3 separate regions of the Homo sapiens genome follow, and regions 2 and 3 are each linked to region 1. Evidence: promoter capture Hi-C in 16 types of primary human blood cells and fetal thymus (Javierre and others, 2016). All regions are on one chromosome and are shown on one strand. The core of a region is centred on a gene start or on the middle of the fragment in contact, and the rest is flanking DNA. Distances in the headings are between cores, read along the strand shown.

Region 1 (4,695 bases), core at 1,354-3,853:
GATCTCCCCTCAGGCCAACACCTGGTGATGGCCACAGTGATGACCCCAAGCAGCACCGCCACACAGGCTGTCCTTTCGACACTCACCCTGAAGCTAACACTCTGCCATATACAAAATAATTCACTGGACAATTCAAGTGCAGGTGGGTCTGGGCTTAGCTAAGTGGCCAGGCCGCAGGTTTAACGAAAGTTCATGGACAGCCGCGCAAAAATAAAATAGATTCCATCCAATGAGTCACAAACAAGCTTCTCTCCCATACCTGCTTGGAGAGGCTTTTAAAATCATGTTCACGATTCAACTGCTGTTTCCCCAGCCACTCTTCCTGAGCTTCACACAGAACAGCATTCTCACGTCCCCCAGGAGGCCAGGGGGCTATTTCCCCCAATTCTTCTCATCCCAATATGACAGCAGGAAGGACAAGGAAAACAAAAATTCACAAAGGGGCTGGGCGTGGTGGCTCACACCTGTAATCCCAACACTTTGGGAGGCCCAGGCAGGCAGATTACCTGAGATCGGGGGTTCGAGACCAGCCTGACCAACATGGTAAAACCCCGTCTCTACTAAAAATACAAAATTAATCAGGCATGGTGGCATGTGCCTGTAATCCCAGCTACTCGGGTGACTGAGGCAGGAGAATCACTTGAATCCAGGAGGTGGAGGCTGTGGTGGGCCAAGATCAAGCCATTGCACTCCAGCCTGGGCAACAAGAGCGAAACTCCGTCTCAAAAAAAAAAAAAAAAAAAAAAAAAAAAAATTAGCCGGGTGTGGTGGTGGGCACCTGCAATCCCAGCTACTCTGGAGGCTGAGGTGGGAGAATTACTTGAACTCGGGAGCCGGAGGCTGTAGTGAACTGAGATCATGTCACTGCACTCTAGCTGGGCCAACAGAGACCCTGTATCAAAAAAAAAAAATTCCACAAAGGAAGCAAACTGTGAGAACAGAGTTTGAAGCATATGTGCCTCGGGTTCCCTTCAAACATCCCCACAGACAAAGGACACCAAGCATATCATCCTGCTGAGAGAAAGAGTTGGCGATTTTAAAACAAAAAGGCACAGGAAAAAAAAATGTTCACACACAGAAACTGCATTAAAGCAGCGTGAATCACCGAGGGCAGCTGTGCCCAGGTGCTGAGGCAGTGGCTGCCCAGCGTCCCTCACCCGTCCCTCTTTGTCTGGACAGCTCTTTCCTGCTTAGGGGATGTGGCAGGAAACCTTGGCCTGACCCATCGGCCAGGCGCATGGCACACCCAGGTCCAGGACTGCCAGGGAAGTCTCTGCCTTCTCCACCAGACTGCTCCGGAGGCTGGACGGAAGCCCGGGCCGATGGAAATGGGACACTCACCTGCGACTCACACATGCACCTGCCTGGGTCACCTGCCTGTCACTCATCCACGCACCTACCTGCCTGGCTCACCTGCCTGTCACTCAAGCACTCACCTACCTGCCTGGCTCACCTGCCTGTCACTCACGCACATCCCTGCCGAGAGTGGAACTGCTAAGGAGGTCAGCGGTGCCAGGCCGTGCAGATGACGGACTGCAAGTTCCGGGCACCCAGACCCAACCACGCCCTAGGCTCAGGTGCTAGACTAAGCGAGATACTCACGATCCTTTCTTCGGAAGCCAGATTACACAGTCTGGTTCCCCTGGAGCAGGGCGCGGGGCCACCGACCTGCCCCAGCCAAGCCCGCTGTACACTCTTCGCTGCCCACCTCCCACCGGGCTGAGGCCCGACCTTTCAGCCGCTTCCTATCTGGGTCTGGCAAGAGGATGGCAACCGGACTAGAGTTAAATACACACGCACTAAGTGGCAGGCACTGAAAAGGACGCCAGGAGGTGACACCTGGCCAGGGGCTGAAAGGATGCAGGGAACTGGCAGGTGTGGATGGCGAGGCCCGGCGCCGCTTAGAGACTTGTTCCGGGCTCGTGTCTCACTCGCCGGCCGGCGGTGGTCTCCCACTGTCACCGCCCGGGTTTCCCAGAAACGCTGGCCCTAAGCACAGTCCCGGGCACGCTCGTTTCTCTCGGGGTTTACGGGGCAGTCTGGAGTCTAACAGTTCAGGGGCGAGGCGACGGCGGGCTCGACGGCAGCCCTCCCCCGACACAGACTCCCGTGATCCACTGACGAACCAGGATCGAGGCTGCCCGTCCTGGGGCAGCTGCAAGTGTCCCAGCTGACGGGAAACCCGGCCGAGTGGTCAAGTCCCCGACATGACCCTGACCCGGAGCTCCGGGAGCCCGCCGTAACCGACCTCGGGTTCCGCGCAGGCAGGCTCGGGCCGGGGCCCCGCGGGCGGCGGGCGCGAACGGAGAAGCGTCGCGCAGGGTCCCCAGCAGCCCCGGGCCGCCGCTGTGGCCGGCTCCGGCAGGGGGGACGAGCGGGCCCGAGGACCCGGCGCAGGCCTGCGAGCGCGCTCACCTCTCCCTGTCGCTGCGCGTGGGCCGCCGCCGCGCTCAGGCTCGCCGTAGTCGAGGCCGGAGCAGGGTGCGGAAAAGCGGGGCCCGCGCCCGAAACAGCCGCACCGCCCCGGGATTGGGCCCACCGAACCCGCCGCAGCGCCGCCGCCGCCGCCTCAGCCTCCAAGATGGCCGCTCGCGGGGCGGAACCAGCCTAGCTTCTGCTTCCGGTGCGCGGTCCGGGGCGGTGAGGAGGGAGGGGGAGGGCTGGCCGCTCTAGGCAGACTGGCGGACCGCGCCCACGACTCTCTGTCGCCGTCGACCCCGGGGTGGGGGATGGGGCGGGGGGCGGGGCGGCGCTTGCGCACTGGCGGGCGGCTCCGGGCACCGTTAGTGGGCGCGAGAGCCCCAGACCCCGAAGCCGCGCGCTTCCCTCCCCATGTGCCACGGCCCAGGGCGGCAGGCCCGGCTGAGGGCGACCCCGGTGGAGAAAGAACCCCGACCCTCCCGCCTCCCGGCTCCCGCCTTGTCCTCCGCTCCCACGCCCCACCCGGCCCTTAGGGGAGGCGCGGCGCGGCCCGGGCATGGAGCGTCCCGGGCCCCTGGAGGCTCAGTGGAGGGTTGGGCTCCAGGGAGCTCAGAGCTCTCTCGTTCAGGGACCCGAGAGTGACACGCGTGGCATCTCTTTGCAACCCACGTCCGCGCCGCAGCACCCTCCCCTGCAGGTGCCTGCCCAGCCCCGGGATGCCCCTGACCTCCCCTTGGACAGACTGCAGAAAGCGCGGGGCGCTGCGTCCTCTCCACCTCTCTCTGACCCCAGACACATTGGGAGAGAGCGGTAGGTGGCGGGGCGCTGGGGTGGGACGCTGGGGGCAGGCGCGCAGCCCACCGCCTCCCTGAGAGGCCGCTGAGGACAGCGGGGAGCTGAGGGTGGTCCCCTGGTGGGGGATCAGGAGGTGGACCTCGCCACCTGGCTGCCTGTGGCCCTCTCCTTTGCCCCAACCCTGACTGCCTCTCAGGAACAACCACAGGTCAGCAAGGTGGCTGAATATTGAGGGTCAGTCCCGCTGTGGCTACGGGCAGAGGGCAGGCTGTGTCCATGCTCAGCCCTGACTCTGGCCCTCTGGGACACCTTGGTGGGTCTGAGACGTTGCTGCAGGCCGTGGGGCAGAAGCCAGGAGGAGTGTCCACGCAGCCTCAGCCCGTGGGAATCCAGCCTGCCTCCATTACTGCCGTCACCGGCTCCACCTTCGGAGAACATCTCAGCATCCAGCCTCCTTCCTCTGCCTCCTCTCAGGCCTCTGCCGTTCCCATGCAGGGCAGGCCAAACTGTTTTCACAGCATGGAAAGTTATGTGAGGGAAGCCACACCGGCCGCAGATACAGGCACCAGCACATCCACTCGCATGCACACTCACGGCTGTGGCCCGCGGCAGATGGAGGCCCGCTCTGCCTTGTCTGTCCCTCAGTAGTGTGCGATGACAGCACACCTGTGGGGGCCCTGCAGCTGGGAAGACTGCAGCGAGGCTCAACTCAGAGGCCCCTGCTCAGGAGCATGGCTGAGTCACACCCCAGGGAGAAGGTGCCCCGGACAGGTGTGGCCAGCACGTCTTGCCAAGACCCCACCACCCCACCCACCCGCATCTGTGGCCTTCTGGTAAGCAGGACACAGGCTGCCCAGGCCTCTAGCCATAGAGCCGATGGCCTTGGCCAGTGGGATCGGCACAAGCAGCTAGGTTGGTGGCAGATGGTGGCTGTAACCTTCTCAACCCTGAGATTGCCCTCTGAGGGCAGGAGCAGCCCTTCTGCTGTGGGCCAGCCCTCCGGAGGGACTTCCTCTGGCAGCTTCAGGAATAGGACAACAGGGACCACCCTCAGCATCTTGAGCAGCGGGGGGCACCCTCTGCTTTGGCAACCAAGAAAACATCCCCCAACCCAGTTACCACCTCCTGCCCCCACCTCCTCCAGCCCCCAGGGTTGGACCAGAAAGCCTTGGCTGCCTCTGAACAGCAGGGATTGTCTGGCCAGGGGATGCTTGAGGGACAGAGAACCCAGCCTGGAGGGTGCAAACTGAGGAAGGTCTCAGTCCCTTTAGAAAGTTTGTTTTGCCAAGGTTAAGGACACACCCATGACATCTCGGGAGGTGCCCAAGGTGCATGTGGCACAGCTCGCTTTTATACATTTTAGGGAGACATGATTTATTTACACGGGTTCAATCTGAAAGAGCAGGATAAATTGGGGTGGTGTGGGGAGACCTCTATGTTATAGGCAGATTCAAAATGATCCTGACCGACAGTGGTTGA
Region 2 (4,695 bases), core at 575-3,074, 210 kb before region 1:
CTCGCTGATATTTATTGCATACAAGACAAGGGGGCAGGATAAGGAGGGTCAGTCTTCTAAGTGATTGACAAGGTGAAGCAAGTCACGTGATCACAGGACAGCGGGCCCTTCCCTCTTAGGTAGCTGAAGCAGAGAGAGAAGGCGGCAGGCATCAGCGTTTTCTTCTATGAACTTATAAGATCAAAGACTTTAAGACTTTCACTATTTCTTCTACCGCTATCTACTACGAACTTCAAAGAGGAACCAGGAGTACGGAAGGAGCATGAAAGTGGACAAGGAACGTGACCATTGAAGCACCACAGGGAGGGGTTCAGGCCTCCGGATGACTGCAGGCAGGCCTGGGTAACATCCAGCCTCCCACAAGAAGCTGGTGGAGCAGAGCGTTCCCTGACTCCTCCAAGGAAAGGAGACTCCCTTTCCCGGTCTGCTCAGTAACGGGTGCCTTCCCAGACACTGGCGTTACCGCTTGACCAAGGGGCCCTCAAGCGGCCCTTATGCGGGCATGACAGAAGGCTCCCCTCTTGCCTTCTATTCACTTCTCACAATGTCCCTTCAGCACCTGACCCTATACCTGCCGGTTATTCCTAGGTTATATTATTAATGCAACAGAGTAATATTAAAAGCTAATGATTAATAATGTTTATAATAATGATGGATAATTGTTCATGATCATCGCTGTATCTAATTTGTATTATGACTATTCTTATTCTATTTTCTTTATTATACTGAAACAGTTTGTGCCTTCAGTCTCTTGCCTCGGCACCTAGGTACTCTTCCGCCCACACGGGACGGGCTGGGGGTGGCCATCTCGGGCTCTGGGAAGGGGCCGGGGCTGTGAGCTGAAGGCTCCATCACCTCCAGATGCTGCAGCAGCAGGAATGCCGGTTCCTGTACCCTCGGAAGGAGGGGCAGAGTGTGGAGAACAAGCCCAAGAATCACTACAAGAACATCCTTCCCTGTGAGGGCGGAGGCCAGGGCGTCACCCGTCGGGCCTGGGGGAGGTGGGGGGCAGGCCGAGCATCTGCCACCGCTGACCTGAGGCTCCCCCTTGCATACCCTGGACCCTCCATCTCTGCTCACCACAGGGTCTGCGGGCAAAGAGGCAGGGTGAGGCCCACGAGCTGTGCCCTGGAGAACTGAGCGGCACCTCCCTTCCCAGTTGATGCTACCCTTGAGTCATCCTGCTCAACGAGGATGACAGCGGGCCCGGAGCCGACTACATCAGGGTGGGTGTGTGCGGGAGGCGGGGCCTGGGCCCATTGCTCCTGGGGGGCTCAGGAAGAACCAGGGTCCCCAAGGGAGGGGTGGGCGGCAGTCTCCAAGGGGTCCTCAGAGAGGCTGGACGGGCATTGGTCCTCAGCCCCTTGCTGGCCTGGAGTGAGGAGTGTGTTTAAGCCACCAGGGCTCTTTGCATAATATTTGTGTGTCGTTTGCATATCATTTGCATAGCATTTGCATGGACTTGTTTGTCCTCTGTTAACAGCAGCAGTTGGCCTCATTCCCTTTCAGACTGACCCTGAGGAGGAGCCGGGCCATGGCAGGGGCAGGGTGGACATCCCTTGTGGCCCTGCCCCGCCGCACCTGCACCTGCACAGCCCGCGTGGGCCCGCCCCGCCGCAGCTGAAGTGCACCACCATGGGCCCGGCCCGCGGCTCGCGGCTCGCGGCTCTGGGCCCGGTTCACCTCGTCCCGGAAGCCGAGGACGCCGGCGGGATCGGTCCGGACGCCGTAGTCCGGCCAGCCGAAGTACTGGAAGTGCTGCACCGTACGCTGTGGCTCCTCCCCGCGGGGCAGGGCCTCGCGGGCGCAGGGTGTACATCGCCTGCAGGGCTGTCTGCAGGCCTGTCTGCAGGCCACGGTGGCTGCTTTCTGGGCCACGGTGCACCAGGAGAACACGCGTGTCATCGTCATGACCACCAGGGAGATGGAGCGGGGCCGGGTAGGGGTGCGGTGCCAGTGCTCCCAGTGCCCATCCCACCCCGTGCATCTTCGGCTGCCCAAGGCCCTTCCCGACCAGGCCAAGGAGGCTGTGGGACGCCGTGGGAGTGGGGAGGCTCCCACAGAGCCCCGTGGCTGCACGTACACACCTGCGTCTCTGCAGGTCGCAGGGGCGGGGTGCCGAGGTGCTGCCAGCAAGGCTGATGCAAAGCGCTCCCCTCGGAACAAGTGTTTCCGGGACTGGCCAGAGCTGCCCGGCAGCCAAGAGTTCGGCCGTGTGCACATGCGCGTCCTCGGCAAGGGCCAGGCCCAGGGCTACTGCGTGCGGGAGCTGCAGGTGTGGCGGCCGGGCCAGGTGAGCCTGGCGGCTGTGGAGCGTGCCTGCTGTCGGCCTGCACTGGGAGACCCCACACCTGCCTGCATCCAACCCCACTGCCTTTGGGGGCTTCCACACCCCTCAACCCAGGAGGTGCATTCCAAGCCTGGACAGGGGTCACTGACGTGGCCACATTCTCAGCCCTGGGCTGGCGGCCGCTCCTCCCACACACCTCTCCAACTGCAGCTTTGGTCTCCGTTGTATACCAGAGACGCCCATTTCTGCTCCGGGCAGATTACCTCGTGTTCCCTCCAGCCCCCGCCCAGTGTGTGTGGGGGGGTCCTCCAGGACCCCATGGACCCCTCACATTTGGTTTTTCCTTATAAAATAACTGTCCTCACAGCCTGCTTCGCCCGCCCCCAGCTCCCTCTTCCCTTCCCCAGGCACCTGAGCCACCTGGGGCCATCTCGGCGCCCCCTCCCCATTTCCTTCCTCCTCCTCCTGCTCGCCTTGGCTCCCGCAGCCCCTCCGCTTGGGCACTCCCGGAAACCCAGCTGTGCCTCAGCCTCCTCCTCCCACCCTGGGGTCACACTCACCGCTTGCCCCGCTCAGGAGGAGCCACAGCGTACGGTGCAGCACTTCCAGTACTTCGGCTGGCCGGACTACGGCGTCCGGGCCGATCCCGCCGGCGTCCTCGGCTTCCGGGACGAGGTGAACCGGGCCCAGAGCAGCAAGCCGCGGGCCGGGCCCATGGTGGTGCACTTCAGCTGCGGCGGGGCGGGCCCACGCGGGCTGTGCAGATGCAGGTGCGGCGGGGCGGGGCCACGCGGGCTGTGCAGGTGCAGGTGCGGCGGGGCGGGGCCACGCGGGACGACGAGGGCGGAGCCATCGGGTGGGCGGGGGCGCCCCCGCCCCCGCCCCCCACTCTCGTCAAAGGCCGCCTAGTTTGTCCTCAGTGGGGGCATCGGATGCACGGGCACCATCATCGTGATTGACATCCTGGTGGACGTCATCCGCAGGCAGGGCGAGCCGCTCCACTCTGGGTCCCCCCGCCCTGCCCTGCTATAGCCCCACCCCTCCGGGCGACCCCACCCCTCCGGACGACCCCACCCCTCAGGACGACCCCACCCCTCAGGACGACCCCACCGCTACCGGCAAGCCCCGCCCCTCATCAGCAGCCCCGCCCCTGCCTGCCGGCACCTTCCCCCCATCCGTAGCCCCTCCCCAAGCGCGCTTGTCCGCAGGGCTGGACTGCGACACCGACGTCCCGAAGACGATCCAGCTGGTTTGGCGGCAGCACTGGGGAATGGTGCAGACGGAGGCTCCGTACAAGTTCACGTACCTGGCGCTGCAGCGGCACATCCGGGGCGAGTAACTGCGCCTGCGCGAGCAGGTGGGGGCGTGGCCCTGCGGGGCGTGGCCTGTGCGGGCGTCGCCATGGTGACCGGCGGCCCCTCCCCCCAGCGCGAGCCGCCTCAGGAGCGCGAGAACCAAAACGTGGGCGCCGCCCCCCGCTAATCGGGTTGCAGCCCCCGGCTCCCCGGGCATCCCCGGTGTGAGTGGAGCGCCGGGGCCGGTCCGGAGTCCTCTGGGAGGGACTGGGACGTGCGGGGTGCAGGGCTGAGCCGCTGCTCCGCGCGCAGAACCCCGCAGCCCTGGGACGGCGAGGACGCGAACCTGCGGAGCCGCGGGTGTCTGAGGAGCCGCAGGGAACCCCCGGCCTAGCCGCGCCCGCGTGTGGCCGGAGCTGCGGGCCGGGACTGTGTCCAGGACAGAGCCACAAGCTTGTCCCCAGCTCAGGGAGGTCCAGGGGCGGCAGAGGGAGCGACAGGCTGCGAAGCCCACCGGTGACCACGTGTGAACCCGCGTGCGCCCCCAGCTCGGCCACTCCGTGCGGGTCTGCCCTCACCGCAGCTCCGGCCTGCCGGCCCTGCCTGCTCCCGTGGTCTGGGATGTGGCCCCGGTGAGGACCCGGCCCCATCAGGCACAGGGTGGATGTCTGTGGAGTGAGGTGTGTGTGACATATTCATGTGACCACCCGTGCAGCGTCACGCGCCTGGCCCTGCCGATGACAAGGGTGTGGGCCTGCGTGGGCATGACTGTGTGTGTGACACAGAGTGATGTTGCTGTGACCCGTGGCTGCACTCCCCACATCACCGGCTTTCACAGCCTTCCGGTAAAGTGCTGTGTTCTCCCTTCTGTGTCTTCGCTGGGACCTGGGGCAAGGGTGGGTGTGGCCCCCACAGCTGGAGTCAGCTTCTGTGGGGCCTTCCCGAGCCCTCCCCACCCTGGACCAGAGGCCCAGCTGGTTGGAGCAGGAAGTACCTGGGCTCTGGGGTCAGGGATGGGAAGGCTGAGGAGGCCTGCGTGAGCTGGACCTGGCCTGGGCCCTCCTGGCCGTGCCTGCCTGGTGGTGCAGGATTCCTGGGGCTGATGACAGA
Region 3 (4,695 bases), core at 788-3,287, 170 kb before region 1:
GTCTATTGATGTTTTTGGTCTATTGTTCTAAGAATTGGAGAGAGAGAGGTTAAAATCTCCAACTATGATTGTGGGTTGTCTATATATGTATGGTTTTTGCAGTCACTTTCTGCCTACTTGTGTTTTTTATATTTAAAGTGCATCTTTTAGTTCAGTGTGATGGCACATGCCCCTAATCCCAGCTATTCTGGAGACTGAGGCAGGAGGATCACTTGAGCCCAGGAGTTTGAGCAGTACTAGACTTTACCTTGGGCAAAAAGGCAAGACCCCATCTCTTAAAAAACAAATACATAGACGGACAGACAGACACACACACCACAGTGCATCTTTTGTAGACAGCATGTAGTAAATCTTGCTAATTTGTCCATTTTAGCAATCTCTGCCTTTTAACTGGAGGGTTTAATTCATTAATATTTAATATAATTATCATTATGGGTAGATGTAGGTATGTTAATATTTAATATAATTACTGTTATGGGTAGATGTAGGTATGTTAATCGTTTTCTGATTGTCCCTTTGTATACACACGCTGCCCTTTATTTTTCAGTGATTTTAGGTTCATAGCAAAATTGAGCAGTTAAGTACAAGGAGTTGTGCCTCCCCGCTGTGCCCACCCAGGCACAGCCTTACCCTCAGCATCCCACTTGTTGCAGCTGACACACCGACAGTGACACATCACCACCACTCAAAGTCCATGGTTGACACGAGGGCGCACTCTTGGTGCTGCACGTTCTTGGTGCTGAGCTTTGGCAAGTGTATAATGACACTATCGTTGGATTTCAGGTCTACCGTTTTTACCGTTTATTATTTGTTTTCTGATTGTCCCTGTGTTTTTTGTTCCTCTATTCTCTTTCTGGCCCTCTTTTGCGTGATTTGAAGTTTTAAAAATTCCTTTCCAAGTTATCTTTTGGCCCTTTAGTTGTGCTTCTTTCCATTATTCTCATAGTTGTTGCTCTAGGAATTGCAATTTCAACCTTGCTTTTTCTAGTCTACTTAGAACTAGCATTATACCACTTTATGCAAAATGTAGACATGTAGACACCTTGCAACTGTACAGTCCACGGATCCCCTCTACTACTCTTCACGTTGTGGCTGTCATATCTGCATACATTATAAACCCAAGAGATGTTTTAATTTTTCCCCAGATATTTACTAATTTTGATGTTCATCATTCATTCTTAAAGATCTGAGTTTCACTGTAGTATATACTATCTTCAGCATTTCCGGTAGCACAATTTGATGGTGACAAATTTTATCAGTTTTCCTTTTTCTGAAAATATTTTCATGTAATGTTTATTCTTAGAGAATACAGAATTCTATGCTTTTTTTTTCTTTCAGCAGTTCCACTTTCTTCTGGTCTCCATAATTACTCACAAACTTGGTCGGGCGTGGCAGCTCACGCCTGTAATCCCAGCACTTTGGGAGGCCAAGTGGGTGGGTCACTTGAGGCCAGGAGTTTGATGCCACCCTGGCCAACATAGCAAAACCCCATCTCTACTAAAAATACAAAAATTAGCTCAGCATGGTAGCACACGCTTGTAGTCCCAGCTACTTGGGAGGCTGAGACACAAGAATCGCTTGAACCCAGGAGGCAGAGGTTGCAGTAAGCTGAGACTGTACCACTGCACTCCAGCCTTGGTAACAGAGCAAGACTGTATAAAAAAAAATTTTTTTTTAAATCTCACAGACTCAGTCTATCAGCTCATGGTCTATCAGCTCAGGGTCTGTCAGCTCATGGTCTATCGGCTCAGGGTCCATTGGCTCACATCTATCAATCAGCTCAGTCTATTGGCTCAGGGTCCGTCGGCTCATGGTCTATCAATCAGCTCACAGTCTGTCGGCTCACGGTCTATTGGCTCATGGTTTATCAGCTCAGTCTTCACAGTGCTGTGCTGTGTGTGATCTGTTGTTTTTCTCTGGCTGCTTTCAAGATTTTTAAAGTTAATCTTTAGTTTTTAATAGTTTTAGGGCTGGGTGTGGTGGCTTACACCTGTAATCCCAGCACTTTAGGAAGCTGAGGCAGGCAGATCCCCTGAGGTCAGGAGTTCGAGACTAGCCTGGCCAACATGGAGAAACCCCGTATCTACTAAAAATACAAAAATTAATCGGGCATGGTGGCACGGGCATATAGTCCCAGCTACATGGGAGGCTGAGGCAGGAGAATCGCTTGAACTGGGAGGTAGAGGTTGCAGTGAGCCGAGATCGCACCACTGCACTCCAGCCTGGGCGACAACAGCAAAACTCTGTCTCAAAAAAAAAAAAAAAAAAAAAAAAACAAACTTTTGAAGTGATGGGTCCAGGTGTGGTTTTATTCTCATTTATCCTGTTTGGGATTCTTAAAACTAAACATTTATGTCTTTCACCAAATTTGAAAGTTTCTGGTTACTGTTTCTTCAAGTACTTCTGTCCACTGTGCCTCTCCTCTCCTGGACCTCTGTAATTACCCATGTGTTAGACATGTTGATATCACCTAAGGTCCCTGAGGCTTAGATATCACCTACAGGTCCCAGAGGCTCTGTTCATGGTTTTGTTTTATTTTCCTCCAATCACTTCCACCCTTTTTTTTTTTTCCAGCTTGGATGATTTCTATTCCTCTGTCTTTGAGGACTCTGCCTATTTTCTCTGTTATTTCCCTTCTGTTATGTTCATTCAGTGAATTTTAAAATTTCAGATCTTGGCCAAGCACAGTGGCTCACGCCTGTAATCCCAGCACCTTGAGAGGCTGAGGTAGGTGGATCACCTGAGGTCAGTTCAAGACAAGCCTGGCCAACATAGCGAAACCCTGTCTCTACTAAAAAAAAAAAAAAAAAAAAAAAAAAAAAAAAAAATTGCCAGGCGTAGTGGTGGGCACCTGTAGTCCCAGCTACTCAGGAGGCTGAGGCAGGAGAATCACTTGAACCTGGGAGGCAGAAGTTGCAGTGAGACGAGATCGTGCCACTGAACTCCAGCCTGGGTGACAGAGTAGAACTGTCTCAAAAATAAATAAATAAAATAAAATTTCAGATCTTGTTTTTTTTTGAGACAAGAGTTTCACTCTTGTCCCCCAGCCCCAGGCTGGAGTGCAGTGGCATGATCTGGGCTCACTGCAGCCTCTGCCTCCTGGGCTCAAGTGATTCTTTGCCTCAGCCTCCCGAGTAGCTGGGATTACAGGCGACCACCACCAAGCCCTGCTAAATTTTTGTTGTTGCTGTTTGTATTTTTAGTAGAGACGGGGTTTCACCATGTTGGTCAGGCTTGTCTTGAACTCCTGACCGCAGGTGATCCACCTACCTCAGCCTCCCAAAGTGCTGGGATTACAGGCGTGAGCCACCACGCCCAGCCAGATCTTGTGTTTGTTTGACCTAAAATTCCCATTTGGCTCATTTAAACATGTTTCCTCGCTGAGATTTCCGGCACTTTGTTCATTATGCGTGCATTTCCCTTTTCTTCACTGAGCACAGACACTAAACCTGCTCCAAAGTGCTTTTTTGACTATTCCAACAGCTAGGTCATAACACAATTGATATCTGTTGTCTTTCCCTTCGAGAATGGCTCACATTTTCCTGGCTCTTCATATGTTGAGTGATTTTGAACTGTACCCTGTACATTGCAAACGTTACATTGTGAAGACACTGGAATTCTGTGATATTCCTCTGAAGAGAATCAATGTTTCTACTTAGCAGGCAATTAATTTCATTAGATTCAAACTGCAAACGCTGTCACACCTGCGGTGAGCGGTGGCTCAGGTCACTGCATGGCACAGGGTGCACGCAGGGGTCAGGGGTCTGCCAGAAACGAGCGGCATCTATACACAGGACTCCTCCCCTCTGGCTCTTTCTGGGGCTTCTACTCTCTTTTTCGAGGAGCTATGGGTGCCTAGCTCCTTCCCCTGCCTGCTCCTGGAACAAGGAAGATAGCGTACTTTCTTTTTTGCTTGTTTGTTTTCTGGAGACACATTCTCCCTCTGTCGCCCAGGCAGAAATGCAGTGGCAGCGATCCTCTCACCCCGGCCTCCTGAATAGTTGGGACCTCAGGTGCACACCATTACACCCAGGTAACGTCCTTTTCTTTTGTAGAGACTGTGTTGTCCAGGCTGGTCTCAAATGCCTGGCCTCAAGCAATTCTCCGTCTCAGCCTCCCAAAATCCTGGGATTACAGGAGTGAGCTGCCCTGCCAGATAGTAGAATTTTTACTTTTTTTTTTCTGAGACAGAGTCTCGCTCTGTCACCCAGGCTGGAGTGCAGTGGCGCAATCTCAGCTCGCTGAAGCCTCTGCCTCCCAGGCTCACGCGATTCTCCTGCCTCGGCCTCACGAGTAGCTGGGATTACAGGCACCTGCCACCACACCTGGCTAATTTTTTGTATTTTTAGTAGAGACGGGGTTTCAGCATGTTGGCCAGGCTGGTCTCAAACTCCTGACCTCGTGATCCACCTGCCTCTGCCTCCCAAAGTGCTGGGATCACAGGCGTGAGCCACTGCACCCGGCCCAGACAGTGGACTTTCTATCAGTGCGTTAGTCACCCCACACTATCATGTGGGGACTGTGGCTGCCCTCAGGGCAAAGATGCAAAAACAGGAAACTGTGCTGGTTGCTTCCTCCAAGTCAAAACTTCCCTCCAAAATCTGCCACTCTCCAGAGCCCTCAGGGAGCTGTTTTTCATACTCTGTCCATGGTTATAGTTGTGCTATGGCAGGGTCACTCTGTTAGAAGTTTACT

What was found. Contacts are between HindIII fragments. The CHiCAGO score rates a contact against its expected background, and 5 or more counts as called.
Region 2: a contact is called between a fragment that was not itself captured here and the fragment with the promoter of UBE2J2 in region 1, in 15 of 17 cell types (naive B cells, activated CD4 T cells, endothelial precursors and 12 more). The highest score is 10.9, in naive B cells.
Region 3: a fragment that was not itself captured here is called in contact with the fragment with the promoter of UBE2J2 in region 1 in 13 of 17 cell types (naive CD4 T cells, naive CD8 T cells, activated CD4 T cells and 10 more); the score reaches 11.3 in naive CD4 T cells.

The regions. Positions count from the first base shown.
Region 1 is chr1:1,271,251-1,275,945 of GRCh38, forward strand. It overlaps UBE2J2 (ubiquitin conjugating enzyme E2 J2), which reads right to left and starts at 2,604. Exons shown (of 7, transcript NM_058167.3): 1 at 2,416-2,604. It overlaps LINC01786 (long intergenic non-protein coding RNA 1786), which reads left to right and starts at 2,752. Exons shown (of 3, transcript NR_185846.1): 1 at 2,752-3,231; 2 at 3,553-4,049. RefSeq lists enhancers at 736-1,244, 1,245-1,751, 1,752-2,259, 3,450-4,088 and silencers at 2,449-3,028, 3,189-3,238. The HindIII fragment of the contact is 5,565 bases long and covers 244-4,695 here.
Region 2 is chr1:1,065,711-1,070,405 of GRCh38, forward strand. It overlaps LOC100288175 (a long non-coding RNA gene), which reads left to right. Exons shown (of 4, transcript NR_148960.1): 4 at 120-743. It overlaps LOC105378948 (a long non-coding RNA gene), which reads right to left and starts at 3,627. Exons shown (of 5, transcript NR_168433.1): 1 at 2,851-3,627; 2 at 2,088-2,330; 3 at 1,036-1,088; 4 at 756-888; 5 at 1-123. RefSeq lists enhancers at 1-267, 3,502-3,616, 3,588-4,353 and silencers at 3,004-3,193, 3,354-3,423, 3,544-3,943. The HindIII fragment of the contact is 4,423 bases long and covers 1-4,036 here.
Region 3 is chr1:1,099,822-1,104,516 of GRCh38, forward strand. The region is part of intron 1 of C1orf159 (chromosome 1 open reading frame 159); the gene reads right to left. Among named protein-coding and RNA genes, the nearest start is that of C1orf159, 14 kb to the right of the region's middle. The HindIII fragment of the contact is 5,940 bases long and covers 1-4,695 here.